Linked DNA regions of Homo sapiens: region 2 is linked to region 1. The links are contacts of gene promoters, found by promoter capture Hi-C in human tissues and cell types (Jung and others, 2019). All regions are on one chromosome and are shown on one strand. Each heading gives the region's core, a stretch centred on a gene start or on the middle of the fragment in contact. The rest is flanking DNA. Distances are from core to core; before and after follow the strand shown.

Region 1 (2,530 bases), core at 9-2,508:
TCTGGAGTTTTTAGTTGTTTAGAATTCCCTGTTGGCAGCCAAATTCCTGTCTGGGAAAATGTATGAGCCAGCCTTCATTTTCCACGATGACTTTCCAAGGAACCATTACAATTAAGAGAATGTAAGTTACTCATCTCCAATAACTGTACATGAAGCAATATTCCGAGGATTTGTTAACTGTCTTTGACAGGAGATCATCTACTCACAGTAGGTGCTTAACAAATGCCATCTTGAATGAATGAAGACCCTTTCTCACAGTAACAAAGTTGGGTCCAGGCTCCTTCATTTTTGCTCAGCAAGATGAAGCTAAGGAAACAGGAAATAAGTCATCAACCAAATCATAGTAACAAATCGTTCTATTCCATTCTCCATAATTCACCCTTCAGTCCAGGGGAACACTAACAATTGCCCCTCCAGATACAAAGAAATTGCCTCCTCTGAAGACAGCTGCCTCACCTAAGGCCACATTTCCTTCCAGGTTGCCCCACTTCCAATGAGTCACTGATTGGCAATCCATAAAGGTCAGCTCTCTTGCCTCAACTCAGCATACCTCTGACAGATCGTCCCATCTTCCCGTCTCCCTTGAGGTTTGACTGGGGTTGCTGCTGACCCAGTGATATAGGAGTTAAGAAGAAAGTACTTAGGCAGATAGTGAAGGTATGGGAGTCCTCAGTAAGGTCTTCCTTTTAATGAAAAGCAGCCCCCAAATCATTTTCTTTTCTAACAAAAAGCAACCTGGAAAATCGAGCTGCAGACACAGACAAGCAAGCTGAAAGCTTGCACAGGCAAATACCGGCAGTTGTGCCAATAAAAATATACTACCTGGGGCCGGCGCTGTGGCTCACGCCTGTAATCCCAGCTACTCAGGAGGCTGAGGCAGGAGAATCGCCTGAACTTAGGAGGCGGAGGCTGTGGTGAGCCAAGATGGCGCCATTGCACTCCAGCCTGGGCAACAAGAGCGAAACTCCGACTCAAAAAGCGACAACAGCAGCAACAACAACAACAAAAAACACTACCTGGGATTAGGCATGTTCTAAATGGCAGCTCCATCTTCTCTTTTTGCCACCCATGTTTACAGAAACGAGTGGACAAGACGGCCCCTGCCAAGTGGGAAGCCTATTTGCATAACAAGATTAGGGTGGGGTGACCAGCCTTCCCTGCGCGCTACGTAAACGTCACCCCTGGTCGAACCAATCTCTGGGCTCCACGTAAATCAGACACCGCCTCCTCAAGCCTGCCCGTAAAACCTGCTGCCGTCAGTCACGGGCCAGCCTTTCCCTTAAGGATGTCTGAGAGCTGGTCTCCTCACTCTTTTCTTCCGCCTATTAAACTTTCCGCTTCTTAACTCACCCATGTGTGTCCATGTCGTTAATCATCTTGACGAGAGATGATGAACCCCGGATATTTACCCCAGACAGTGATGCCGCTTCACCAGCATTGCACTCTACTTCCCCGCTTCCTGATCCTGCCTCAGCTTCTCCTCTCCACAGGTATTGATCCCAAGAACAACCCGTAAGAAATGTCCTGCACGCTAATCTCCATCTCAGAGTCAGCTTCCCAGGGAATCCAGCAATTACGAAGCATTCAGCTTAATTTTGTTGATTGCTTTATGATTTTGTGTGTGTGTGTGTGTTTTAATGTTGAAATGTAACATATATTCAAAAGTGTGGATAAAGTCTCCATGACGATTAGTTTCCTGTGTCATCATGGGGGCCAGGCTTTAGTGCCTTTTTTTTTTTTTTTTTTTTTTTTTTTTTGTGGTGAGACAGAGTTTTGCTCTTGTCACCCAGACTGGAATGCAGTGGCGCGATCTCGGTTCACTACAACCTCCTGGGTTCAAGTGATTCTCCTGCTTCAGCCTCCCAAGTAGCTGGGATTACAGGTGCCCGCCACCAAGCCAGGCTAATTTTTGTATTTTTAGTACGGATGGGGTTTCACCATGTTGGCCAGGCTGGTCTTGAACTCCTGACCTCAAGTGATCTTCCTGCCTCGGCCTCCCAAAGTGCTGGGATTACAGGCGTGAGCCACTGCACCCGGCCTTTACTGCCCATTTATTTAATCAAACACTAATCTAGGTAGTGCTGCAAAGGTATTTTGTAGATGTAGTTAACATCTACAATCAGTTGGCTTTACATAAATCTTACTTTTCATACTGTGAATGGGCCTTATACAATCAGAAGCCTTAAGAGCAAAAACTGAATTTTCCTAGAGAAGAAAAAATTCTGCCTAAAGTCTGCAACATCGTTTCCTGCCTGAGTTTCAGCCTGCCAGCTTCTCCTACGGATTCTGGACTTGCCAGCCCCACAATCATGTAAGCCAATATGCTAAAATAAATTTCTTAATATAATTCTTAATGTATATATCCTTTTGATTCTGTTTTTCTGGAGAAATCTGGCTTATACAGGCTCTTAACATGATTGTTTATCTGTCAATTTTTATTTTATGGCTATGTTATTAGGTATAAACAAATTTACGATTATTTCATATTAAACCTGAAACGTTGATTATTCTGAAACGAGCCAGTCTTTGC
Region 2 (2,530 bases), core at 16-2,515, 49 kb before region 1:
TAATAAATCACAGTATATGTTCCTGCTTTTTACTTTCAGGAGAAAAAAAGCAAAAATCCATCAAAGGAACTAACAGAAGGGACTCTGTATACGTCTAGGTTGGTTATGCAGAAGCAGTTTAAGGTGGATAAGCTTGAATCGAATATGCCTTTCTCATGAACAACATTATTTTGTAGATTTATGTAGATTATGTTATGTTAGGTAAGTTCCAGAAAAAAAGAAAATAGTTTATCTTTTGGCGAAGGTGGGGGAGGAGGTTGTGGGTTGTAAAACCAAACATCCTAAGTGTTTCTGGCTATTCATATCTCTGAGTAAGGGAAATACTGCTTGGACTCCTTGCTCTGTGACCTTGGGCATGGTGCAGTGGCTTCCGAGCCTAACCAAACGGGTGCGAAGCCTTATCAGCTGTGTGTCCCTGAGCACCTTTCTTAACTTTTTCATGCCTCAGTTTCCTTATCTGTCAAGTGGAGATAATGCTAGTGCTTATATATAGGGCTGCTGTGAGAATTAAGTGAATAAATATTTATAAGGTGGTTAGAATAGTTCTTGACCTTTAGTTAATGTTGCCTCAATGTTTGTTGATTAATTCTGAAGTCCTTTATCAGCTGTAACACCCTGTGAGTCAATGGTCCTTTTCTGTTGCCTTCGACAATATTATGTAATCAAAATTCTGATCCCAAATGCTGACCTGAGAGAAAATGCCTGATTCGGAATGAGCCAATAGCAGCCCCATTATATTTTCTTTACTTGGCTTTCTGAGCAGCAGTCACATTTAAGGCGTTGCCATCAAAAAGGGTGAAACACAGAGGTGTTTGATTTAGCTGACTTTTGTCAGAAACTTGATTCACTGGACACTGGTTGAGTGGCCTCATTTTGGCTGAGATTTTCATTTGAGGCTTTCTGTGTTTCCACTAGATGGCATATCAGTTTGTTCCATTGTGTTTCTGCTGATTCCTGCTCCTCTTGGGTGTAGATCAATGCTCTTGTTCTGGTTTGGGGGAAGGCTGGTGCTGGAGAAGCTTCTAGAAGGAGCATGGAAACAGCCCCATTTAGCCCCAGGGATACAGAGATGTGGGGAGGTGAGATACAAGGCTCAGCCAGCCTGGAATGGTGCAACAGTCCCCTTTACTCCCCGGCCAGTTAAACCCTGGATTGCACCAAAATGACAGGCTGAGGGTCATCAGCTGTGGTCCTGCTCACTTCCTGATGACAAGAAAAGTGGCCCCAAGGCAATCCTGAGGACACTAAGGCAGTGAGAAGAAAGATAACCTACCCCCACTACATCATGCTTGGCTTGAGGGGACTGCCAGCTGCCAGCCTCCCAACCACACAAAACGAGGATCCAACCCAGCTCCCTTAGAAACAATCAGTGCCTGCCACTTCCTTCCAAGTCTTCTGGTCTCACAGCCTCCTCTGCTGGTGAGAGGCGACAGGAGTTTGTCAAACAGGGTGAATGACATATGTCCAGCATCCACCTGTTGTCTCAGTTATTAATAATGCCTCTTTTACTCTCAAAAGTGGCCCAGTTTGGAGAAGGAAGTGTGTGGTTCATCCTGCACTTAGCATCTTCTGAAATGCTGCAGTGGGGAGGTGGATTCAGTTACCTGGAGTGTGGATGTTGTGGATGTCCCTATGCATGGGAGTGGAAGTGGGCAGAACAGGGCTGCAGCCTGGGGGCTTCTACCAGGTCAGCTGGCAGAATTAGAATCTCTGCTCAGAAAGCCCTCCATGAGCCTGGCTATGGAAGGGCACAATGCCTGATGCCCTTACCTGCCCTTCCCTGCCTAGCGTGAGCCTGTGGGTGCAGCCAGAGGTGGGATGTGCAAGGTAGGCATAGTGGGTGACCTGAGCACTGGTGCTCCAGTGAGTGAGGGGTGGCAGAGCTGAGCACTGTGGGGTGAACAGGAGGTGATGACTTAAATACTACGTGGAATAGAGAAAAGGAAGAAATGGGGAAAGACAGAGAGTTTGCAGCCAACTCACTGACTGGCCTTGGGCAAGTTATTTTTTAGAGTCTTTCTTTCAACATCTGTTAAATGATGGTGTTGATAGATCGTGGCAGTGTTTTGGAGGAAAAGGAAGGATAAGGTGTATATCATGTCTTGTGGATTCTATTTCCCAGAACCTTAGTAGGTGTACTGCACAACAGCCTGCATTAATATTATCATATCATTACTATCATAATACCATTAATTTCATTGCATTGCAGGTACTGTGGCTGAACCTGAGCTCCAGACCTTTGAGATCCTGATGGAATTACAGAGGGTGCTTACATAGGGAGCAGCACAAACCAGCTCATATAAGGTGTAATGAGTTAATCATGTAATATGGAGGATGTTACTAATGTAATATGTAATGTGAATTATTGTGATATGTAGTGTGTATCAGTATAATTTGTAGTGTGTTAGTAATGTAATATGGTTCGTGCTGCAGTAGTTTGCTGTCTACTAGGATGGAGGACTTACATGGATGTCTGGGGCAATCTCCATCCAAATGAGCCATCCAGTTATGAGCATGCAAAGCAAACATT

The links. The method cuts DNA at HindIII sites, captures the fragments that hold promoters and counts their contacts. A contact is called where the count stands out against the background at its distance.
Region 2: a fragment that was not itself captured here is called in contact with the fragment with the promoter of DSCR4 in region 1 in 4 of the 25 tissues and cell types used here (dorsolateral prefrontal cortex, ovary, pancreas and 1 more).

Annotation. Positions count from the first base shown.
Region 1 is chr21:38,120,088-38,122,617 of GRCh38, reverse strand. It overlaps DSCR4 (Down syndrome critical region 4), which reads left to right and starts at 1,258. Exons shown (of 3, transcript NR_147130.1): 1 at 1,258-1,490; 2 at 2,210-2,311. DSCR8 (Down syndrome critical region 8) reads right to left here and starts at 1,167. Exons shown (of 3, transcript NR_026842.1): 1 at 1,017-1,167; 2 at 207-306. The HindIII fragment of the contact is 7,375 bases long and covers 1-2,530 here.
Region 2 is chr21:38,169,290-38,171,819 of GRCh38, reverse strand. It overlaps LOC124905020 (a long non-coding RNA gene), which reads right to left. Exons shown (of 3, transcript XR_007067862.1): 3 at 120-1,022. Among named protein-coding and RNA genes, the nearest start is that of DSCR10, 36 kb to the left of the region's middle. RefSeq lists an enhancer at 1-45. The HindIII fragment of the contact is 4,272 bases long and covers 1-2,530 here.